Linked DNA regions of Homo sapiens: regions 1, 2, 4 and 5 are each linked to region 3. Evidence: promoter capture Hi-C in 16 types of primary human blood cells and fetal thymus (Javierre and others, 2016). All regions are on one chromosome and are shown on one strand. Each heading gives the region's core, a stretch centred on a gene start or on the middle of the fragment in contact. The rest is flanking DNA. Distances are from core to core; before and after follow the strand shown.

The links. The method cuts DNA at HindIII sites, captures the fragments that hold promoters and counts their contacts. A CHiCAGO score of 5 or more calls a contact.
Region 1: a contact is called between a fragment that was not itself captured here and the fragment with the promoter of BCL2 in region 3, in 16 of 17 cell types (activated CD4 T cells, total CD8 T cells, total B cells and 13 more). The highest score is 20.4, in activated CD4 T cells.
Region 2: a fragment that was not itself captured here is called in contact with the fragment with the promoter of BCL2 in region 3 in 1 of 17 cell types (fetal thymus); the score reaches 6.0 in fetal thymus.
Region 4: a contact is called between a fragment that was not itself captured here and the fragment with the promoter of BCL2 in region 3, in 13 of 17 cell types (megakaryocytes, M2 macrophages, M1 macrophages and 10 more). The highest score is 9.5, in megakaryocytes.
Region 5: a fragment that was not itself captured here is called in contact with the fragment with the promoter of BCL2 in region 3 in 16 of 17 cell types (megakaryocytes, total CD8 T cells, total CD4 T cells and 13 more); the score reaches 36.5 in megakaryocytes.

The regions. Positions count from the first base shown.
Region 1 is chr18:63,027,263-63,032,089 of GRCh38, reverse strand. No RefSeq gene overlaps it. Among named protein-coding and RNA genes, the nearest start is that of BCL2, 290 kb to the left of the region's middle. The HindIII fragment of the contact is 1,575 bases long and covers 1,835-3,409 here.
Region 2 is chr18:62,977,181-62,982,172 of GRCh38, reverse strand. PHLPP1 (PH domain and leucine rich repeat protein phosphatase 1) reads right to left here. Exons shown (of 17, transcript NM_194449.4): 17 at 1,740-3,911. The coding sequence ends at 2,742. Among named protein-coding and RNA genes, the nearest start is that of PHLPP1, 260 kb to the right of the region's middle. The HindIII fragment of the contact is 5,760 bases long and covers 1-4,992 here.
Region 3 is chr18:63,316,784-63,322,120 of GRCh38, reverse strand. It overlaps BCL2 (BCL2 apoptosis regulator), which reads left to right and starts at 2,352. Exons shown (of 3, transcript NM_000633.3): 1 at 2,352-2,947; 2 at 3,169-4,039. The coding sequence starts at 3,455. RefSeq lists enhancers at 495-584, 5,021-5,070 and silencers at 1,476-1,545, 1,576-1,785, 1,946-2,135, 3,491-3,730. The HindIII fragment of the contact is 7,545 bases long and covers 1-5,337 here.
Region 4 is chr18:62,994,711-63,000,057 of GRCh38, reverse strand. No RefSeq gene overlaps it. Among named protein-coding and RNA genes, the nearest start is that of PHLPP1, 280 kb to the right of the region's middle. The HindIII fragment of the contact is 4,518 bases long and covers 1,093-5,347 here.
Region 5 is chr18:63,010,709-63,015,379 of GRCh38, reverse strand. No RefSeq gene overlaps it. Among named protein-coding and RNA genes, the nearest start is that of PHLPP1, 300 kb to the right of the region's middle. The HindIII fragment of the contact is 1,069 bases long and covers 1,424-2,492 here.

The DNA.
Region 1 (4,827 bases), core at 1,373-3,872, 290 kb after region 3:
ATGTAATATGTATGTAATTGCTATAATTTTCATTTATTGACGATCTACTAGATTTGTTTTTAAATCCACATGTTTCTGTCCAAATTTCCAAGCTTCTACTTAATTTTTTTCCTGAAATCTACATGGGATTATAAATCTTTAATTTTAAAAGAACATATTAGATGTAGATAATGAGTATTCTTTATCTGAAAATAAGTATGTGAACTTTTAAAAGATCTATTTCTACTATCTGTTGTTTCTGCCTCTTCTCATTCATAGTAACTTGATTCCTCATAAATTTCATAATTTTTTAAGCCACTTATATTCTTTGCAACTTTACCTGTGGGAATTCTTGCAGAACTGAATTAAATTATGTTTTTTTTTCTTTAGGAAGGTCGCTTACTTCTGTGAATCATCTGGAGATGCTACAAACAAAGGATTTTAATTTAAAGTCTGCTTGATGTTTTCCAGATCACACAAGTGGTTAGTTAAGATAAAATCTTGCATGAGGGCTGGCATATGGTTGCAAATTCTCAAGGGATATATTTTTTTCCTTCTCCACCTGTCAGCAAGGCTGAGAAAAGCAAATTTTTTGCTATAAATTTCTGTGCAGTGGGGCTTATGTCTCACTCATATGCAGTGTAAGTCCCAGCTATATATGGGGGCCTCCTATTATATTCCCTCCTTGGGCAGAATCTGGGCTTTATCTCCAGCCCCCTACACCCAAGGTACTTGCAAAGTGAAATCTTAAGATCTGGTGGAAACCCTTAGAGGAAAAGCTAGCTTTGGAACTTATTAACCTCCCAGAGGTCTTGATTTTATTTTATTTTTAGACTTGGTGTATTCCTCACTTATAATCATTTATAAAATTTGGTTTAAAATTTTTTAAAAACCATTTTAGTTGTTCCAGTGAGGACAGTCATTGTGTACCTGACTGCCATATTGCTAGAAGAAGTTACCAGGTATTCTTGAAGGAAAACAGAATTTAAGGGAAGCTGTGAAGACTGCCTATATACATCTTATTGTTGCAGGCTTAGGGCAATGTTATTGTTAATTCAGGATCATAGAAGACCAAGGATACAATAAGTAGGTGTATTAATCCACTTTCACATGCTGTAAAGAACTGCCTGAGACTGGGTAATTGATAAAAGGAAGAGGTTTAATTGACTCACAGTTCTGCAGGACTGGGGAGGCCACAGGAAACTTACAATCATAGTGGAAGGGGAGACAAACATATCCTTCTTCACATGGTAGCAGGAAGGAGAAGCGCCAAGCAAAGGGGGAAAAGCCTCTTATAAAAACATCAGATCTCATGAGAACTCACTATCACAAGAACAGCGTGAGCGTAACCACCCCATTATTCAATTATCTCCCAGTGGGTACTTCCCATGACATGGGACTGGAGGAACTACAGTTCAAGATGAGATTTGGGTGGGGACACAGCCAAACCATATTAGTGGTAAAAACTGGATTATTGTGTATTAATGGAGAGGATCAATTACACAAAGAACATAAAAATATGTTTGACACAAAGAGAGTTGATTTTTCCAGGAAAATTAAAGAATTTAGAGACAAACTGGGGAGATGGAAAATTAAACAAAAAATTCTAATGCTCTTTGGGGAGTATCTTCTGAATTATTTTTATATTGCAGAGAGTTTGTAAACAGGCCTATTTATTATAATTATTAAAATTAATAACCAATTTATTAATAGTAAAATTTTAAACGTAAATATTCTTACACCCTTGTGTTTAATTTACAAATTGTATCCTACTTATAAATCTAGTAATTTTTGTCCAAAAATAAGAAATATGATATTCACTTGTTCTTTGATTAATCTTAAATTAACTTAAGCTTAATAGTTAAAGTCTTCTAAACAATTAAATACGCCGGCCGGGCGCGGTGGCTCACGCCTGTAATCCCAGCACTTTGGGAGGTCGAGGTGGGTGGATCACGAGATCAGGAGATCGAGACAATCCTGGCTAACACGGTGAAACCCTGTCTCTACTAAATATACAAAAAATTAGCCGGGCGTAGTGGCGGGCGCCTATATTCCCAGCTACTCAGGAAGCTGAGGCAGGAAAATGGCGTGAACCCAGCGTGCGGAGCTTGCAGTGAGCTGAGATTGTGCCACTGCACTCCAGCCTGGGCAACAGGGCGAGACTCTGTCTCAAAAAAAAAAAAAAAAAGAAAAGAAAAAACAATTAAATACAACTTACAAACATAATTATGTTCTTTTAAACATTTTTAATGCCTGACTGGACAGATTTACAAAACAAAATCTTCTAAACTCTTAAGAAACTCTTGCAAATCAAACTTATAAACATAGTGAGCCAGTTTTTATTTTCTTTTTCTTTTTTTTATTTTTTCTATAGACAGGGTCTTGCTATGTTTCCCAGGCTGACCTCAAACTCCTGGGCTCGAGCGATCCTCCTGCCTCAGACTGCTGAGTAGATGCGATTACAGGCACACACACCATACTTATTTCAGGTCAGTTTTTCTTAAACATTCAAATACTGTTTTAAAATTTAATCAAATTATCTTATACTTTATGAATTAAAATTGCAGGTCTAATACCAATGATGTATTTCAAATTGAAATCCCAAAATTGATATATCAGAGCTTCAAATGTATATTGTTTCTACCCCTTATTTATTATGTAGATTATCCTGATTATAAAACTTATTAATAAACTTAACACAAAATATTAATACCACAGGTTTGTTTTCCTTCACCATTTCTCTGCTTATATTAATATAATCTTAGAACTGTAAAGCCACTTAAGTAGAGAGGACAGATTCTTATCACTTGGAACAGCACTGATAAGACTGGGATGAAGTTTCAGGACTACAGTGAAATTGCTTATTGGTCAGAGATTGAGTGGGATGTGGGCATGACTGACCCTACCAAAGCATGGGTGAATATACTGAACCAATTCCATCAACCAGAAACCCAAAGCCACGCTTTTCAACTGGGATTTAGTCTTCAACCAGTGCATCGTGTTTCTATTTTATCCACTTTTTAATCAAACCCTTTTCACCTCTTTATTACCTGAGTTGGGTAGATGTGCCCCTACCCATATTGTAACCAATTTCCTTCATCATTTGTTTGGACTCTAATAACCTCTCTATGGTCTGATTGGATACTATGTGTTACTGTTTGCTTGTTATTTGGTTCTCATCCACAATTCTGCTATCATTTTATTCACAAGGATGGACATTTCATCTGACCAAGGCATGTCAGGAAAGACTTACAGGAAGAAATAATGTCAAAGCCAAGATCTGAAAGATTCATCCATCTATTTTTAAAATATTTATTGAGTAATTAACATATGCAAGTACTGATTTGGTATCTACTGAGTAGCTAACATATTCAGATACTAGTAGTCTAGTGGTGAACGCAACAGATTAAATGGCTGCCCTCATAAAGCTTATCTTTTGGTGGAGGAAGGCAACAAGTAACTAATACGGTATAAATGGGGGGATGACATGTGAGCAGTAACCTGAATGTCAAACAACAGGGGAAGGTGTAAGAAGATAAAGGAAGTCACTAAAAAGGATGACATAGATGAGTGGTTTTCAACTCTGTCAAGCTCAACACCCCTTTATAATAGTAATAAATATTTTGTAATACCCCTCTTTTGTTACCCTGAAATTAAATTCACAGATAATATATTTACTCAGGTGCATAATTTTTTAAAAGAATGTACACAATGGCCTGACCATAATAGAAACAATTCAAATAGAATAAAACCTATGCATTTTTTATCCATATATGTCCAGTCACAAAAACAACTACTGTAGGTATTTCAGAGGAGAGTTAATGTAGAGAATTGGTTACAAAGATTTTGGAAAGGCTGGAAGAGCAAATCGATGAAGGTAGGGTTTTCCAGGATTAGTAACTATAGGGAATGACTACCCCCGAGAACTGGAGAAGCAAAAACAGAAATGGTGTTACTCAGAGTCGCTGGTAGCCAGGCTGTGGCTGCCATCCTTCATAGCATAAGATCCAGGATGAACCAGAAGCCAGTGTCTCCTACTGGCAGACCCTCAAGTGAGGCAAGATGGGAAGGAATCTAGGAGCTGGAACTTGGAGGTTTCCAGCCCCAGAGGCAGAAGGCAGAGCTTAGAAGAAGTGTGCATTGCCAAGAGATCACAGTGTCAATTTGCAATTTTTAGACACAACTACATTTGAAGATACAATGAAGAAGTCAGATGCTTGAATCTACTTTTAAATAAGTTGAGATTTAGTAGGAATAAGACAATGTTCCACTAAATGTAGACACTTTATTTATATGATGTTTAGAAATAGAAGGCTAAATAAGTATATTCACCTCTATGTATAGTCATCACAGATACAGTGACCACCACACACCTATATACAGGTGGTGTGATGTTGTGATGTTGATTGAGCTGCTGTCACTGGCATTGCCATTGCTGACGAGATTCTCCAGGTGGTTGAGTCAACATTTCACAGTAAAAGGTCTAAACACACTATTAGTTGCATTGCTGGAAAATTTAGTGTATACTAAAACCACACCAAAAAGCTTCGTGCTTATATGCAAAATGAAGTTAGGTTTGGGTTTCAAATCATTATAAATTTTTTTTTTACCTGTATGAATGTCCATTAGGATGTTCAAAACTGGGGCTGGACTCGAGTTTTGGAGGACATCTAATTTTTCACTCCTTTGTCTTCTAAATGTCATTTGCACGTTGCCACCACATCCCACTCCCACCTCTCATTATTATGACAACTAAAACTGTCTCCACAGATTTTCGGTCCCCAAAAAAAGAGGCAGCAGTGATTCTGAAAAGACCATTTTTCACATGGAAAATTATTATCGTGGCTG
Region 2 (4,992 bases), core at 1,080-3,579, 340 kb after region 3:
CAATAAACCCAGCAGCAAGCACAAATAAACTGGAGGACTCAGGAAAAAAGCAATTCCAAGTCTCATACCCCTTTCTCCTGCAGCAGACACAGAAGTTAGGAAATGAGGTGTCCCTGCATCAGAGCTTGTGGGGCCCAGTGGCTGCCCCTGGCACAGAGTTGCTGTGGGGCCCATTTTAGAATCTGGAAGCGATTGCTGCCTCCGTGGACCACGCTCAGCCAGTTCTGACCACTCTGGAAGTGAGCTGCGGTGGAAGAGATCCACATACAAGGCCGGGGTGTGCTCCACCCCCGGGGACAGGTGAACCCTGCCCAGAGGGGGTTTAAGAACTGAGGAAGTCAGAGAAGCAGCCCAGACCTGCAGGAACTAAGGCGTCGGTGTGAGAGCTTGGAGTTGTCCACATCTGCTTCAACCCAGTGGGGCAGCCCGAGGGACAAGGTAAGGGGCTGGGAAGTGGAACCGGGGCAGGGGTCCCAAGGTGGTTTAGCTTCCAGTCTCAGCCAGAGCGCTCCGCCTGTACTGGGGAGTCAGCTTCCTTGGTCCCTGGGTCTCTCACTGGGCCGAGATGAGGCAATTCTCTTCCATGGCTTTAGTGGTTTCCAAAGAGCACTGTGTGCAAGTAGCCTGATGTGGAAATGAAGTACGGCCATTACGAAAACAAAGTCCACCCAGCGGCCTCCTAGAGGGGGACACAGAGCCCACCACCAAGTCTACTAGTTAAGAAATAAGAACTGCCCTGTCACTGAATTAGCCAGGTCCCACCCAAGGGCAGACCTAAAGAAGGAAGCCAGGTCTACATAGGAAGGTGGTCCATGTGAGATGAAGACCAACAGTATCTTCCACACAAGGTTCACACGTGTAGGGTGGGGGCGAGGTGAAGGCGGAGGTCCCTGTCTGTAAATGCAGTTGACTAGTAGCTGGGAATACTGGCTTTCTTAAGTACACACCGCTGCACCTACACGATTCCTGCTGGTGGTGGAAGGCAAGCCAACCAGCTTGATTGACCCTGTCCAAGTAAGAGGCAGGTTAACCTGCTTATGTGAGCTACAGGCCCCCCAGGAAAACTGAAAACTTCGCTTCGTGAGAGTAAAGTTGTCCAGGGATCTCCCCTATCTATGCAACCTCTGTCTATCCCCCTTCTCACATCTTCCCTAAGAAGTACCCAAACATCTTACCCTAAGTCATAAGAAGAAATAGAAAAGCTGTAAGATCAGGCCTGGCACAGTGGCTCACACCTGTAATCCTAGCACTTTGGGAGGCTGAGGTGGGCAGATCACTTGAGGTTAGGAGTATGAGACCAGCCTGGCCAACATGGTGAAACCCCATCTTTACTAAAAATACAAAAATTGGCTGGGCATGGTGGCGGGTGCCTGTAATGCCAGCTATTCAGAGGCTGAGGCAGGAGAATCACTTGAACCCGGGAGGCGGAGGTTGCAGTGGGCAGAGAACACACCACTGCACTCCAGCCTGGGAGACAGAGCGAGACTCCATTTCAAAAAAAAAAAAAAAAGAAAAGAAAAGAAAAGAAAAGCTGTAAGATCAGCTAATTATACTGCTTACCATTTGGTTAATTTCACATTTCATTCAATGTAGGTTAACTTACTGGATGTTTTTCTCTTAAAAAAAAAATCAGAAATATCTGATAACCCCAATATTCCATCCATTCTTTCTAAACGCAAGCTAGTGTGACTGTCTCCAAGAAACATCTGGCTGCTGAGACAAAAGCAGATACTTGTAAATACTTGTAAATTTCATATTTATTGTAACAAAAATTATGACATGTCCATTTGTGCATTCTGCTTGAGTATAACTCTGGGTATGTAAATGGCCTAATGGGGCACTATACAACCATGCTGATTGTGGCAGCAGTAAGGAACACAGTTAAAAGTGTCTGTCAAAGTGGGAAGGCTGGGACAGGGGAGGAAAATGGGTTCAGGGCCCTTGGGTGCAGGTTCTTGTCCAGTGGCCTAAGATCCATTTCCTCCGGACAGAAACACTGCAGCTGCTCAGCCTCCTCATTCAGTGAAGTGAGGGTGAGTTGTGAGGCAGGCAGGCTCCTCAGAGGGGAGGGGGAGGGGAAACGTCAGTTACTTGGGCTGTGTCCTTACGCCAAGACTACAAAACATCGTAAGCCTCACTATACAACACTGAGCTATTTACAATGGAAATTCTCAATCAGCTGTTCTCTCAGAGAAAATTAGTGAATCCCAGTGACTTAAGTCACCTGACAGAGTAAAGCAACTCCTAGGAGTTAGTCTCCATATTCTACAAATGTCTATTATTTTCAAGACAAAAACAAAACAAAACAAAACAAAACAAAACAAAAGCCTTTTCCCCCCAAAGAAATACAGAATTACAATATTATTAAATCATTTAGCAACGGCAGCCTGCCCTGCCTTCCAAACAAACAACAAAAAGCCATTTTAAAAAATATTACATTATCATTAACTGTTTCTCTGTAATATATTAAACCTTTTGTTCTTTGTCTTTACATATCTGATATGTTAGGGGGAGAAGTTAACAAATGTAAATCATATTGGTAAAGCATCACTAGAAGAAAGTGGTGATTACTTAAAAAAATAACCCAAAGAAAGAGAACCTACAGATTAGCTGCGATGACAGGTTGGGAACAGTGTCTGGGGGAAGGATGTGGAGTAAAACCCCTGGTTTAATGTGAGCCTGGGAGACTCTTGCAACTCAGTCTTTTGTGGTTAGTTTATTTGTTAAACAGCTCGGCTGGGTCATAGTGGCGTGTCGTAATAATCTGGCAGCTGGTCCAGCTGGTAGTGCCGCGGCAGCTGCGGCTGGAGCTGAGGGGGTGGTGGCGGCTGCTGCTGCTGCTGTTGCTCCTGGTGATGCTTCATGATTTCTTTGACCTCCTCTTCCAGCTCCGGGGGTATGATAAACTGATCATCAGGATCCGGCTGAGCCGGGGCAGCAAAATAGCCTCCAGGCTTTCGAAGAGGTGCGTCTGTAGCCACCTCTATCACATTGTGGCTCCTTTCCTGGGGCGCAACAGAGCCATTGGCCCTCCGGCGCCCAATGGTCCCAACGGCAGAGAAGTCTGCCTTCCTGGGCAGACCTGGCTCATCCTCGTTGGCGCTGATGACAATGCCCTCATCACTGGCCTCTGCTGGCACCTGAAGCAGGTGCTGCTGTTTCTCCTTCTCCTTGGCCCGGCTGCAGTGGATGTCCACCTCCACCTCCACCCGGCTGCCGTTGGTGAAGACGCCCTCGATGGGCTCCTCATCGTCACTGTCAAGGCCGTTGTCGGAGAAGGCGCTAGAGAACGTGGCGCTGGATAGCTGGCGCTGGAAGGAGTTGGACAGACAGATGGGGTGGAGCATGCAGCGCTGCTCACTGGGGTAGGCAGGGCTGTTCTCGCTTAGGGCTCCGGGCGGGGGCTCATCGGAGGCTGTTGACCCCACCTCGCTGCTCATCTCAGAAGTGGAGAGCTCACTGCTAATCTCGGAAGCCATGCCGCTGCTGGAGGACGGCACGCCCAGCCCATCTGAGGGCCGATCCTTGATCACCATGTTCACTGAGGGAGGAAAGATGCCAGGACTGGGTGGTGGCACAGCCCCACCGGCGCTGAGCTCGCAGCAGCAGAAGCTGTCCTCAGTGACACTGAGCTGCACCACCACAGCGCTGATGCTGTCGTGGCAGCCGTAGCTCTGGGCCAGGGTACACAGCTTCTTGGCAGCAGCCAGGGCATCGGGCACGTTGCGCACGGCTTCCACGGCCTCCTCGACGGACAGGCTGTCCCACAACCCCTTACTGCCTAGGATGAAGAACTCATCCTGGGGAGTCAGGAGCACGGACTGCACGTGGGGGCGAGGCACCACACTGGGATGGAGGAAGGTGTAGCCCAGGATGCGCGTGGACTCAGTCACTCCGTTCACCTTGCCATCCTGGAAGAACAAGGGTTTGCAGACAGACAGTTAATACAGAGCACCTGCGGCAACTGTGCAGGTTCCCTGCGGGTCCCTCGACTGTCTCGACTGTAGGACCACAGAGAAGTGCTGTGTGGCCCACAGAGGAAAGAAGGGCTCACTCTGTAGTGAGTAGTTAATGTGCACCTGTCATCAGAAACCCCAGGTAGTAGGCCTGGGCAGGTAAGGAGCAGTAGGGACAAAAGGAAAAGATTTCGGTTATGTGTGTTACTGGGACCCCATTCACACTAGGTCACAAGTCCTGCTGTTTATCTAAAGCAAGCCATCATCTAGCCTTACACAGCAAGCATAGCTGGCTAGCTCCTCCTGTAAACATGGGTTTACATCTTCCCTCCCTTGGTGAACATGGTGATCAAGGATCGGCCCTCAGACGGGCTGGGTGTAGGAAGACTCTGAGGTAGCAAGAGACTTTCTGATAGAAGCCAGTCCTGAGCAAAGACACATGACGCAGGCATATATCAAGACAATGCTCCTAAATCTTCCATTGCTCTCCATGATCACAAGAGGCAGTAGTGTCTAAAGGTCCAGAGAGGACTTGAAAGTACTTAAGCGGTGGAGAAAACCTTGGTTTGACTAGGTGGGTAAGAATGCTCATGTCAGGAGAACAGATGCTAAAGAAGAAATGCCAATTCTTACAACTTCCTTGAACTTGATTTCCTGTTGACCAATGGAGAAGGCAAGATCTGCTGGCTTTAGTTCAGCTGTGTGCATGCTATTTAAATCAATTACCAAAGTGCCAGACCACTTGCCAATAAAAAGACCTGGGTTTTTTTTTTTTTTTTTTTTTTTTTGCCACGTGTACCTGCTTGGTTCTTTATTCTTCAAATTTTGAGATTCTCAGGTCCATGACATACCTCTACATGCCCTAGTTTTAACACTTCTTTCCAGGAAAGGCTTCATTATGACAAATCCCTGTCTGGGATGACAAAGTGTTTCTTCCACAGAATATCCATTTCCTTTCCAGTCCTACCACTTCCCTTTATTTGGGATTTGGCAAGGTGTTTACTTGTCCTAGGGATGTCTTTCCCAGCTTCTCACA
Region 3 (5,337 bases), core at 1,103-3,602:
CAGCTATTCATGAGGCTGAGGTGGGAGAATCCTTCGAGCCCAGAAGTTCGAGTCCAGCCTGGGCAACATAGCAAAAGCCATCTCTTAAAAAAAAAAAAAAAAGGCCAACTAAGTAAAAATTAAAAAAATCATAATTTGGTGTGCTTTTCTGGCTTTTTAAAGAATGTTTTGATTTTAGAGTAGGAATGAGACAAAATAAAGATGTCAGGCAGGGCACAGTGGCTCATGTCTGTAATCCCAGCACTTTGGGAGGCTGAGGCAGGCGGATAACGAGGTCAGGAGTTCGAGACCAGCCTGGCCAGTATGGCGAAACCCCGTCTCTACTAAAAATACAAAAATTAGCAGAGCGTAGTGGCGTGCACGTGTAATCCCAGCTACTCAGGAGGCTGAGGCAGAATTGCTTGAGCCTGGGAGGCAGAGGTTGCAGTGAGCTGAGATCGCACCACTGCACACCAGCCTCCAAGATACAACAGAGCAAGACTCTGTCTCAAAAAAAAAAAAAAAGTCATAGCATATTTGTACACATTGTAGTACTCATTTGTCATCTTTCTTGACCCCAATAATCCAGTGTCCCTATATATTTGCACTCGAGCCCTATTAAGTAAGCCGCTGTGCTTCTAGAAGACCTTTTTCTTTTCTTGGTGCTTTGTCAAAGACTCTTGGAGATAAAAATACACACGTGCAACTTGTTTGTCCTCTTGTCCTTTTTTGCTAGGGGCTATTCATGCTGATTAATTTAAAACTGTCTGCTTGCGCGTACACACGTCTGCGAGTGTGAATGTGTATGTGTGTATCTATGTACCTCATTTGAGAAAGTGCGGCCAACTAGGATTGGCTACGAGGCAAAGGTGGAGACCTTTAGGAGCCCACCCACCCCAGCGTTAGGACGGTGGGCCTGAAAGTTACTATATGGAAGTCCTCATCGTGTAGCACTAAACCAGTGTAAAAGGTGTTAGGGACAGAGGGAAAACATTGACTTAAACTGTCGTAAAGCCCTTGATAAACCCCTTCCCTGGAGCGCTGAGTTCTGCATGGCCTGGGCCACGGACTAGGTGTTCAGGTGGACACGGGCGGGGATGCGCGTGCGTGTGTAGTGCGCGGACACCTAGGAAGCTACTTGAAAGTAAACACCACGCTCGGGGCGTCCCTAGACATTGCTTAAAACGTGCAGAGTCACCTGTCTTCACAGCAGGGCAGCGCTGAGGTCCCACTGCTGGGGGCGGTGGGGGGCGGCATTGGCCTGGGTCTTCCCCCGGCGGCCGAGCGCCGGTAACACAACGTGTGTGTGTGTAGGCGCGTGTACACACTCTCATACACGGCTAGAAAGGGTCCAGGCGACACACACACTCCCACATACACGGCTAGAAAAGGTCCAGGCGAGACACACACACACACACACACACACACACACACTCCACACACACTCACACGGCCAGAAAGGGTCCAGGCGGTTCCCGGCGCTTTTCCAGCCCTTGTTTTCATGGCGCACCCTCCCGCCAGCCGCCCCCCTCCGCACTCCGTCGTCCGCCCGGCCCGGCCGCGTGCGGTTCCCCGGGAGCCCCCACCCCGTCGCGGACCCCAGCGACCACCAAGTCCGCACGCGGCCTGCCGCAGGCCTGAGCAGAAGGCCCCGCGCACACCCACCGCGCCGCGGCCGCGCGGGAGGCCTGTGCCGCCCGCGCCACCCACTGGCCGGGCCCCGCGGGCGCAGCGGAGCGGGCGGGTGGCCGGCCCGGACGCGCCCTCCCCGGCCGCGGCCCCGCGCGCCATGTGCCCCCGGCGGGACGCGCCACTCCCGGGCCTGCCGCGGCGCCTTTAACCCGGGCCAGGGAGCGGGGCGGAGGGGGCGGTCGGGTGGCTCAGAGGAGGGCTCTTTCTTTCTTCTTTTTTTGAATGAACCGTGTGACGTTACGCACAGGAAACCGGTCGGGCTGTGCAGAGAATGAAGTAAGAGGACAGGCACCACAGCCCCGCTCCCGCCCCCTTCCTCCCGCGCCCGCCCCTCCGCGCCGCCTGCCCGCCCGCCCGCCGCGCTCCCGCCCGCCGCTCTCCGTGGCCCCGCCGCGCTGCCGCCGCCGCCGCTGCCAGCGAAGGTGCCGGGGCTCCGGGCCCTCCCTGCCGGCGGCCGTCAGCGCTCGGAGCGGGCTGCGCGGCGGGAGCTCCGGGAGGCGGCCGTAGCCAGCGCCGCCGCGCAGGACCAGGAGGAGGAGAAAGGGTGCGCAGCCCGGAGGCGGGGTGCGCCGGTGGGGTGCAGCGGAAGAGGGGGTCCAGGGGGGAGAACTTCGTAGCAGTCATCCTTTTTAGGAAAAGAGGGAAAAAATAAAACCCTCCCCCACCACCTCCTTCTCCCCACCCCTCGCCGCACCACACACAGCGCGGGCTTCTAGCGCTCGGCACCGGCGGGCCAGGCGCGTCCTGCCTTCATTTATCCAGCAGCTTTTCGGAAAATGCATTTGCTGTTCGGAGTTTAATCAGAAGAGGATTCCTGCCTCCGTCCCCGGCTCCTTCATCGTCCCCTCTCCCCTGTCTCTCTCCTGGGGAGGCGTGAAGCGGTCCCGTGGATAGAGATTCATGCCTGTGCCCGCGCGTGTGTGCGCGCGTGTAAATTGCCGAGAAGGGGAAAACATCACAGGACTTCTGCGAATACCGGACTGAAAATTGTAATTCATCTGCCGCCGCCGCTGCCTTTTTTTTTTCTCGAGCTCTTGAGATCTCCGGTTGGGATTCCTGCGGATTGACATTTCTGTGAAGCAGAAGTCTGGGAATCGATCTGGAAATCCTCCTAATTTTTACTCCCTCTCCCCGCGACTCCTGATTCATTGGGAAGTTTCAAATCAGCTATAACTGGAGAGTGCTGAAGATTGATGGGATCGTTGCCTTATGCATTTGTTTTGGTTTTACAAAAAGGAAACTTGACAGAGGATCATGCTGTACTTAAAAAATACAAGTAAGTTCTCTGCACAGGAAATTGGTTTAATGTAACTTTCAATGGAAACCTTTGAGATTTTTTACTTAAAGTGCATTCGAGTAAATTTAATTTCCAGGCAGCTTAATACATTCTTTTTAGCCGTGTTACTTGTAGTGTGTATGCCCTGCTTTCACTCAGTGTGTACAGGGAAACGCACCTGATTTTTTACTTATTAGTTTGTTTTTTCTTTAACCTTTCAGCATCACAGAGGAAGTAGACTGATATTAACAATACTTACTAATAATAACGTGCCTCATGAAATAAAGATCCGAAAGGAATTGGAATAAAAATTTCCTGCATCTCATGCCAAGGGGGAAACACCAGAATCAAGTGTTCCGCGTGATTGAAGACACCCCCTCGTCCAAGAATGCAAAGCACATCCAATAAAATAGCTGGATTATAACTCCTCTTCTTTCTCTGGGGGCCGTGGGGTGGGAGCTGGGGCGAGAGGTGCCGTTGGCCCCCGTTGCTTTTCCTCTGGGAAGGATGGCGCACGCTGGGAGAACAGGGTACGATAACCGGGAGATAGTGATGAAGTACATCCATTATAAGCTGTCGCAGAGGGGCTACGAGTGGGATGCGGGAGATGTGGGCGCCGCGCCCCCGGGGGCCGCCCCCGCACCGGGCATCTTCTCCTCCCAGCCCGGGCACACGCCCCATCCAGCCGCATCCCGGGACCCGGTCGCCAGGACCTCGCCGCTGCAGACCCCGGCTGCCCCCGGCGCCGCCGCGGGGCCTGCGCTCAGCCCGGTGCCACCTGTGGTCCACCTGACCCTCCGCCAGGCCGGCGACGACTTCTCCCGCCGCTACCGCCGCGACTTCGCCGAGATGTCCAGCCAGCTGCACCTGACGCCCTTCACCGCGCGGGGACGCTTTGCCACGGTGGTGGAGGAGCTCTTCAGGGACGGGGTGAACTGGGGGAGGATTGTGGCCTTCTTTGAGTTCGGTGGGGTCATGTGTGTGGAGAGCGTCAACCGGGAGATGTCGCCCCTGGTGGACAACATCGCCCTGTGGATGACTGAGTACCTGAACCGGCACCTGCACACCTGGATCCAGGATAACGGAGGCTGGGTAGGTGCACTTGGTGATGTGAGTCTGGGCTGAGGCCACAGGTCCGAGATGCGGGGGTTGGAGTGCGGGTGGGCTCCTGGGGCAATGGGAGGCTGTGGAGCCGGCGAAATAAAATCAGAGTTGTTGCTTCCCGGCGTCCCTACCTCCTCCTCTGGACAAAGCGTTCACTCCCAACCTGACCGATAACGCCTGCCATCTAAAAGTCTTTAACTTGCTTGCTAGTCGTGGAGATCCAAAGATCTAGCGTTTGTAATCCAGTAGGATGTGGTGGTAAATGGTACCCCTTCAGTGTTTCTCAAGCTGAAGGTCCAGGAGTCCCCAGGACCACCGTTTCCTGGCTTGAGCAGCTTGTTGGAACCGGAGGGAGGTTTCAGGGACTGCTTATGAACCAGATACCAGGTTGGGTCTTGACAGTCTGCATCCCAAACAAGCTCCCCTGAAACAAGCCCGTTGTACACTAAAATTGGAGAACAACCCGATTAGAAGAATAGACTCCACAGAAGACCAAGGGCATCATCAATCGGTAAAATTTTCCAAAAGAGGAAAACCAATGTAAGTCTTTTTCCCTGAAAAACTTAGTTGTGTTTGTAAAGAGCTAAGTTGACATTCCAAAGTCCTTGGACTGGAATCTCCAGTGTGTGCCATGTTCCCAGTGGGCGTGATGAGGTGTCCTGAGGAGTATCAGGCTATGGCTTTGCTACCTTGTCAGTGACAGAATTTGCATCGGCTGCATTCTTTGTATTCTATAATTTGTGTATGGTTTACCAGTTTGCTAGAATGTTAGAATCTTTTGTTTTTCACCACTCAGAGTGGACCTAATTTTGTGGTCGGCTGAAAAAAATTTGCATCTAGGTATCTATGTAAAGTGTAGAAGAATTGATTCTTAGCTGTGGATTATCTTACCCTTACTTTAGTTGAAGTGATTGATACCTGTGGCTTTGAAGAACATTTGTGAGATGATCTTTTTCTCGTACTGTGCTAGATAGAGCTTTCATCATTATACCATACAATTGTACTTTTCTGAGATTCTTTGTTGGAGGGGGTTTAGTTCCTAAGAGTCAAGGATTGTAATGGAGATCTATATCTCATATCTAAAATGATGAATTTATGAAAAAGTAATTCTTGTGTGAAGTTTTTTTTTTTTTTACACTTTTTGTTTTAATCTGAAGAGTTATCTTTGAAAAACAGGATGCAATTCAGTGCTTCCTTTTATAGCCTCTTGGGAGAATGACTAATGTCATTATTTTATAGGACCTAACAGGAGCAAAAAGCCTAGAAATTACTGCAAGTGGATTAGA
Region 4 (5,347 bases), core at 2,102-4,601, 320 kb after region 3:
CTGGATGCTTAGCTCAAGGCCAATAGGCATGTGTTATATGCTAATCGATACACGCATTTGTGACCTGGGAGCATGCTGTTTTGAGCAGCTGCATGTCTATAGGAAATAATAAAGTGATTCATTTTTATGTTGCAAACTTCAGTATTTGATATAAATTCTATCAATATGCCTTTGCCACCAAGCTCCTGCCTCTAATATTTAACCATCATCTATTGTAGTTGCAACAAACTGAATCGATTGAGATTGAAAAATCAGATGTAAAAAAAAAAGTAGAAAAACATGTCCTTTGTGGTTAATATTAATCTTGCGATTGATTTTTTTCTTTTAAGGAAGTCTGCCAAGAATAGAGGAGACAATTAGGAGAAAAAGTGATTCACTGTATCCACAGCTTCGGAGGTCAAAAGGAGACAGAGCTGGCCTTGGTATTTGGCAGAGAGGAGAGTCAAGAGGTTGGGCCAGCAGCCGCACAGAAACACATCACATGAGACCTGGAGAGGGAGGAGGCAAAGAGCACGGGGCAGTCAGGAGGACGGGCTGGGCGCCATGCTCTGCGGGAGGGAGGGAGGCTCTGGCCTCCATGCCTTGGCTCCCAGTACAGCACCTTCCTGTTCCTGGATTAGCTTCCTGGACCAGACACAACACTCAATGACCTCTTTTAGTCAAAAACCTCTCCAAGACCAGGCTATTCTCGGCCTGCTGCACTTCTGCTTAGGCTATTCCAGAAGTGACCCCTCTATCAGAGCCAAGAAGGCTGTGTGGCACCTCTGGGTAAGATCTGTGGGGTCACTCACCAGAGACCCCTGGCACTTAGCTCATCAGAAGAAGATGGCTGAGCCTAGAAGGTGCTGACAAAACAAAAAACAAAACAAGCCCCCCTACTCCCACAACTTTCTCAGGTCATCACACCCTGGAATGATCCCAAGCAGCCCCATGCCACCACTCCCCAACCTTCTAGGAACCTCAGTAAAGGAGAAATATGTTATTGATGTCTCCACTCCACAGCTGTTGTCTCCCACGCACCCGCTATCTGCCTGGCACTGTTGGTCATTTTAGGGACACTTTAGACAGGTAAGTTTCTACTCTCATGAAGCTTCCAACCTAATGGGGAGATTGTGAACAGGCAGATAAATGAGATCATTTCGGATATTGATGAAGGACAGGAAGAAATTAAAATGCAGTAATGTAATGTGGGGTGACTTGGAAGGGAGGGCCTTCCAAGTCAGGGTGGTCAAAGAAGACCCTTCAGTTACCCTGTGGGGAGGCAACATCTGAGCTGAGGTCAGAACAGAGAAGGAGCTGACACAACACTCTCGGAGGAAGCACAGCAGACTGAAGAAGAGCGACTACACTGGGTCTAAATGGAGACCAGCCAGGCTCGCGCCGCAGGAAGGAAGCCGGTGTAACTAGACCAGTCACTGTAACTGGGGGTGACTTTGCCTCCCAGGGGATATCTGGCAATGTCTGCAGACAGTGTTGCTGTCGGCAGTGTGGGAGGATGCTAGTGGCAGCTAGTAGGTAGAGGCTAGAGATGGCACTAACTGTCCCACAATGCACAGGACAGCACCCAACCAAAGAATGATCTGGACTGAAATGTGCCTGGTGCTGAGGCTGAGAATCTTGGGGCCAGAGGGTGGAGTGAGGGCAAGAGGGCAAAAGCCCATGGCTGGGAGGTGGACAGATCACATAAGACCACGGGGGCCCTGATGAGGAGTTTGGGTTGTATTCTAAAATGATGGAAGGCCACTGGAGACCTCCCCTCGGGAATCTGGCATGATGTGCATTAACAATGATGGCTCTGATGGGAAATAGATGGCTGTGGGTGCATAATGGACCCTCCTACAGAAGTGCAAATGAGAGGTGATGGTAGCTTACAGGAGCTGTGGAGACAGACAGAAGTGGATGGCTGGGATATGTCTTTTTAAAAATGAGGCTGGGCGTGGTGGCTCACGCCTGTAATCCCAGCACTTTGAGAGGCCGAGGTGGGCGAATCACCTGAGGTCACGAGTTCGAGACCAGCCTGACCAACATGGAGAAACCCTGTCTCTACTAAAAATACAAAATTAGCCGGGCATGGTGGTGCATGCCTGTAATCCCAGCTACTTGGGAGGCTGAGGCAGGAGAACTGCTTGAATCCGGGAGGCAGAGGTTGCAGTGAGCCGAGATGGCGCCACTGCACTCCAGCCTGGGTGACAGAGCGAGACTCCATCTCAGACACACACACAGAGGCTGGGCGCAGTGGCTCATGTCTATAATCCCAGCACTTTGGGAGGCCGGGGCAGGCGGATCACGAGATCATGAGTTCGAGACAAGACTAGCCAACATGGTGAAACCCTGTCTCTACTAAAAACACAAAAATTAGCTGGGCATGGTGGCAGGTGCCTGTAATCCCAGCTACTTGCAAGGCTGAGGCAGGAGAATTGCTTGAACCCGGGAGGTAGAGGTTGCAGTGAGCCAAGACCACACCACTGCACTTCAGCCTGGGAGACAGAGCAAGACTCTGTCTTAAAAAAAAAAAAAAAGAAAGAAAGAAAGAAAGCAAGAAACAGACTTGTCAATGAATCATCTGTGCAAAGTCAGAGTAGGGAGGGAAAAAGGAATCGAGGATGATCCCTGGAGTTTAGGGCAGAGCAAATGAGTGGATAATGGTGACATTTTTGTGATGAAAAAGACTATGGGAGAAATAGTTTGGAGTAGCAAACCGGGAGTTCTGTTTTGGACGGGATGTGTTTGTGATGCCTATTACATATTCACAGGCAGAAAGACAGTAGACACTGCGCTAGCACCAGACAGATGGTATTTAAAGTACATAAGAGACACTGAAATCCACCAACAGTTACCAGTTTATGCCAGACTACTTAAACAATACTAAATTCAACATCAAAGAAGAATAGAGGAAGATATGTTCCTCTTATTGTTTGCCTAGAAAAAGTTCCTTAAGATCTAATCATTTTTGATTCTTAGAAGAATAATTATTTTAAGGAGGCAGGAGGACAATTCTCACTTACACGTGATCTAGGAAGATGTCAAAAAATGCAGAATCATCCAGTAGAAGCCGTTAGGGGTCAGGACACACTTCACATGCCTGAAACACCTGTTCCCTGCCGGGGGTGTCGTTACCCCACTTCTCCATGGGCCACTTCCCAAACATCCCATAAGAACCACTGGAGAACGTGCCCCTATTTCGTGAAGCCATCTCTGTTCCTGAGGTGGGTGGCTCTTCTCCTTTCTGTGCATGTGAGACACTTTGAAATTAAGCCCTTCCCCAGGCCAGGCCTCTGCTAATGACATCAGGCACAGTGTTTCACTGCATTGATGGCTGTGTACTGTGAATCCCAGCTTACAGATAAAGTCACCAAAGCACTGGGAGGTTACACTGCTAAGATCGCTGACTCGGAGCTGCTACTACAAAAGTACCTTAACATACTGGATGGCCCAGAAACAACAGAAATTTATTGCTCACCGTTCTGGAGGCTGGGCGTCAGCAGATTCGGTGTCTGGTGAGGTCCCACTTTTCTGGTTCAGAGATGGCACCTTTCCTGTGTCCTCACACAGTGGAAGAGGCAAGGCAGTTCCCTTGGGCCTCTTTTATAAGGGCACTAATCCCATTCATAAGGGCAGATCCGTCATGACTAATCACCTCCCAAAGTTCCCCACCTCCAAATACCATTACATTGGTGATTAGGTTTCAACATACGAATTTTAGGGGGGACACAAGGATTCAGACCACAGCAGTCACCTAGTAATGAGGGCAGCACCAGGATTTGAACTCAGAGCTGTCTGCTCCAGAACCCTTGGCTCCTATTATTTTTTAAAATGACGTTTACTCTAATAGACTGTGAAATGCTTGAGGAAAAAAATATGCCAAGCTGAGTTCATGGAGAACACCAGCGTCCTACATTGGCAAAGTACCACCTATCTGGAACTCATCTTAACATTTTACATCTTACCATGAACTTGCAGCTACTAGATTTGAGAGCACATAAGCCAGGTCATAGAAATCTGCTATCCATCACCAGCCACTAAAGGAGCATTTGCAAAGGGTAAGAATGAAATCTTGATTTTCCTTCTCAAAGCTGAGCTGTTTAACCCTTTAAAAATCATCCAATGCTACATCAGAATTTTCTCTTCACTCAACTTCTTTTTTCTTCCAAAAGGAAAAAAAATCTACATTACGCTTCCCTTTGTGGTAGGTGCTTTGACCTCAGCACTCTCCTTCACTCTTGCTCCACTGCCCTGGGCCCACCCACCCTTCACCAGCGTTACCGGGGCTGCACCCACCCTCATCTGAAATCCAAAGCTATTCTTCCTATGCTGCAGAGAGGAACAGCCACAGCTCTCTACCTCTTGCTCCAGTTGTTCATAACGTCTAATCAAGATAACAGCAAAGGGGGCCAGGTGCGGTGGCTCACGCCTGTAATCCCAGCACTTTGGGAGGCCAGGGCGGGGGGAGGGAGCAGATCACTTGAGGCCAGGAGTTCAAGACCAGCCTGACCAATATGGCAAAACCCTGTCTCTACTAAAAATACAAAAATTAGCTGGGCATAGTGGTGCACACCTGTAATCCCATCTACTCAGGAGGCTGAGGCACGAGAATTGCTTGAACCCCGGAGACAGAAGTTGCAGTGAGCTGCGATTGTGCCACTGCACTCTAGCCTGGGTGACAGAGTGAGACTCTGTTTCAAAAAATGAAAAAAGATAATAGCAAAGATGTTTGTGAGTCTGCTCTCACGCTGCTATGAAGAAATACCCTAGACTGGGTAATTTATAAAGAAAACAGGTTTAATTGACTCACAGTTCCACATGGCTGGGGAAGCCTCAAGAAACTTACAATCATGGCAGAAGACACCACTTCCCAGGGCAGCAAAAGCGAGAATGAGCGCCAGCAGGGGAAAGGCCAGACGCTTATAAAACCATCAGATCTCGTGAGAACTCACTCGCTATCACGAGAACAGCACAGGGGAAACCGGCCCCATGATTCAATTACCTCCACCTGGTCCCTCCCATGACAGGTGGGGCTTATGGGGATTACAAATCAAGATGAGATTTTCAGTGGGGACACAGTTAAACCTTATCAATGTTCAATAAAGTGTTATTTACAATAGCAAAAAGCTGAAAACCATATAAATGTGTTATTAATACGTTTGAATACATAGTAATTCTGTTGGGTGAATTTGGGAATATTTATTAAGAATTTTTAAGAAAAAGGGAAGATGCCCAACGAAATTTCAAAAAGGATATAAAATACAGCATAATCACAATTATTTTAAAATGGTGCTTAGCAAAAAAGCTGGACAAAAATTAAACAATGGTAATAGGTTTATCTCTAGACTGTGAGGTCAGGAGCCAT
Region 5 (4,671 bases), core at 709-3,208, 310 kb after region 3:
GTCCTCGAAGATCAGGTAGAGCCGCCCCATGAACCAAGTTGCTAAGAATTCATAATATATGATCTATTGAGTTTCTCTGCACCAGCAAGCTTAACTAGAAAATGAGTTTTTTAAATGACACCTTTACAACTGCATCAAGAAAACATCAAATACAAATACCTGGGAATAAATCTAACAAAATATGTCTAAGACCCCTACCCTGAAAATACAAAACATCATTGAAAGAAATTAAAGATCTAAGTAAACAGAGGAATTTGCAACGTTCATGGAATGAAAGCCTCAAAAGTATAAAAATGTCAATTATTCCAAAATATATTTATAGATTTAAAGTAATTCCCATCAAAATGCCAGATTTTTTTAAATTGGCAAGCTGATTCTAAAAATTCATGGGGAAATTTTTTAAAAATTACTTAAAGAAGAACGCTAAAGGAGTTACATTATCAGATATCAAAGCTTATTACATAATTCCATGTCTGGGTATATACCCCACAACATTGAAAGCAAGGACTTAAACAGATACTTGTACACCCATGTTCACACCAGCATTATTTGCAATAGCAAAAGGTGGAAGCAACCCCAGTGTCTGTAGACAAAATGTGGTGTACACATGCAGTGAAATATTATCCAGCCTTAGAAGGGAAAAAATTCTGACACCTGCTACCACACGGATGAATCTTGACGACATTATGGTAATTGAACTATGCCAGTCACTAAAGGACAAATGTCATATGATTCTCCTTATATGAGGTACCTAGACTAGTCAAGCTTATCAAGACAGAAAGTAGGATGGTGATTGCCAGAGGCTTAGGGGAGAGATAATGGAGAGTGTTTGTTTAACGGATACAGAGTTTCAGTTTGGAAAGATAAAAAGAGTTCTAGAGATGGAGGGTGGTGATGGTTGCCCAATGATGCAAATACACTTACTGACATTGAACTGTATGCATAAAAATGGTTACAATGGTTAATTTTGTTATATGCATTCTACCACAATTTTTTTTAAAAAGGACTTGTTATAAAACTACAGCAATTAAGACAGTGTAATAAAGGCATAAGAACAAATAAACCAATGGAACAACATAGAAAGTCTAGACACAGGCTTACACACAAGGTCATCTAATTGATGACAGTAGTGACAATGCAGTAGAATGAGGAAAACCTGGCCATTTAAAAAAATGATGTTGGGTCAATTGGTTAACCTTATGCAGACAAAATATGTCTTAACACCTAATGCACACCACACACAGAAATCAATTCTGTGTTGTAGATCTAAATGGAAAAGATCAAATACTAAGCCACCTAGAAGAAAACATAGGGCAATATCTCAAAGCACTGACCTTAAGGAAACAGATTGGTAAACTAGACTTAATTGAAATAAAAATATTTTTGTTTATCAGAAGATCACATTAAGATGAAAGGGCAAGCTTTGGAGTGAGAGAAGATATGTGTAATACACACACTCAACAATGTATAAAATGCCCTGCAAATCAATAAGAAAAAGACAGCTCTCAAGAGATCGAGACCATCCTGGCCAACACAATGAAACACCATCTGTACTAAAAATAGAAAAATTAGCTGGGTGTGGTGGTGCATGCCTATAGTCCCAGCTACTCAGGAGGCTGAGGCAGGAGAATCGCTTGAACCTGGGAGGTGGAGGTTGCAGTGAGCCGAGATCGTGCCACCACACTCCAGCCTGGGCAACAGAGCGAGACGCCATCTCAAAAATAAAAAACAAAAAAAACCAAAACAACTCAACAGAAAAGTGGTCAAAAGACTTGAACAGGGACCGCACGTGAGAATATACCCCAATGACCAATAAACACATCCAAAGATGGTCAACATCAAAATTAAACTACAAAAAGACATGGCAACAAAACACAACACAGAGTACCACAGGTTGATGAGATTTTGGAGCAACTAAAACTCTAATGTATTGGTGAGAGCATAACTCGGTACAGATAGTGTTTATCTATGTCTCCTATAGCTGAGAGTATGCATGCTTTATGGCCTAGAAATTCCACTCCTGGGTAACAATCCAACAGAAATTCAGTATGAATGTGAATAGCAATGGCATTCATAAAAATCCCAAAGCAGAAATTACCCAAATGTCCATTAACAGTAGAATGGATAAATATATGGTTGTATATCCACAGAATGAAATACTATACAACAATGAAAAACACAAACTACTTAACACATTACATACGGGTGGATCTCACAAAAAAAAAAAAATGTCAAATAAAAGAAAGGCAAATAAGAAAAGAAGATGATCCTATTTATATAGTCCAAAACAGGCAAGAGTAGTCTGTAGTGTTGGCAGTGAGGAGGATAGTGGTCCCTTGTATGGGTGGTGACTAGAGGAGACATGAAGGAGGCTTCTGGACATATAGTAATGGTGCGGGCTACACAAGTGTGTGAACTTCATGAAAATTCTTACTGGCAAACGAATAATTTGTGCACTGTTCCTTATGTGTGTTAATGTTCAATACAAAGCTTACTTTTAAAAGGTATATATTCTATATAATTCAGCCCAAAGACCACATTTTACTTAATGGAGAAACACTATACGTAGCCTCACTAATAATAATAATAGAAGAAAGACAAGGTAGGCCACATGTCCATATTCAATACTGCATTGGGGATAACCACCAATAAATCAAATAAGAGAAAGCAATTAGAGGAATAATAACTGGAAACTGAAAGGTAAAAGTATCTCTGTTTGTTGATGACATGACTATATATCTGGGAAACAAAAAATTAATGGAAAAACTACTACGAGCAATAAAGGAATTCATTACAAATAACAGAAACTTAGCATCCGGAAAACAATAGCTTTTATATATTTAAACAATGATCAATTTATAATGTCAAAAGTATTTTAAGTAAAATAGCTTGACATAAACATAACGTGAAATGTGTAAAACCCATATGAGAAGACTATTATATACTCCTGAAGATATGAAAGTACATTTGAGGAAAAGACACGTATTTTTTTGAATAGACTCACTATCTTAAAAATGTTGACTCTCCCTAATTTATGTATAAAATCAATGTGGTATTGGGGTTTGTTTTTGTTTTTTCCTGGAGCTAGCCAAGTTAATTATAAAGATCATATGGAAGAAATATCAGGCAGGAATACCTAGGAAAATCCCGTGGAAAAAAAGAGTAATATGTGTATGTTGGAAAGGGGAGGTTACCAGATATTAAAACATAATGTAAAATCCTTATAATTAAAACAATGTTGTATTGGCATATGAATAGTCCAATTAAATAAAATCAAAAATCCAGAAATAGACTAAACTACACAAGGAAATATACCATACTATGAAGGTAATGTCTCAAATCAGTAAAGAAAGAAAACAATTTTTAATAAATGATGTTTGAACAACTGAATAACTATATGGGAAAAGATACAATTGAATCTGCTTATCACACTATACTACAGGATAAATACCAGAGTAAGCCACACAAATCCCAGAGGAAAACATGGGTAAGTTACTCTACTACCAGGAAGCAGCCACATGTCTCAAAATCCAGAATTAGTGAAAGAAAGACATTTATAAACTTGACTATATTAAAAAAAACTTTTACATGGCAAAAAATAACATAAGCATGGACATTAACAGAATAATAAAAGAATATAAACAACTCTATGCCCCAAATTTGATAACTTGGATGAAATAGACCAATTCCGTGAAAGACACAATCTACCAAAACTCATACAAAGAGAAACAGATAATCTGAATAGGCCTATATCTATTAAAGAAATTGTACAGTAATTAAGGATGTTCCAAAACGAAAAGCACCAAGCCCAGACGGATTTGCTGGTGAATTCTACCAAACATTTAAGGAAGAAATTACACCAATTCCTTGCAATCTCTTCCAGAAAATAGAAGCGGAGGGAACACTTCCTAATTCATTCTGAGGCCAGCATTACCAGCATACTATAGCCAGACAAATATTACAAGAAGAGAAAACTACAGACCAATGTTTCTCATGAATGTAGATGCAATAATTCTCAGCAAAATATTAACAAATCAAATCCAACAATGTATAAAAAGAATTATACACCACAATTAAGTAGGATTTATTCTAGTTATGCAAAGCTGGTTCAACATTTGAAAATCAATTAATATATCACACTAACAGCCTAAAAAAGAAAATCATATAATCACATCAATAGATGCAGAAAAGCCATTTGACAAATCCAACATCCATTCATGATAAAAACTCACAGGAAACTAGAAATAGAGGGAAACTTTCTCCATTTGATAAAGAACATCTACAAAAACCTACAGTTAAAATCATACTTGATGAGAAACTAGAAGCTCTCCCACTAAGATCAGCAACAAAGCAAGGATGTCTGCCTTCCCTACCTCTAACCAACATCATATTGGAAGTCCTAAATAATGCAATAAGACAAGAAAAGGATATACAAGATATGCAGATTGGAAAGGAGGAAATAAAACCATCTTTGCTTGCAAATGACATGTTCATCTATATAGAAAATCCCAAAGAACTGATAATAAAACTCCAGGAACTAATAAGTCATTACAGCAAGTTTTCAGGATACAAGGTTAGTATACAAAAGTCTATCGCTTTCCTATATACCAGCAATTAACAAGTGAAATCTGAAATTAAAAACACAATACCATTTACATTAGCACCCCCAAA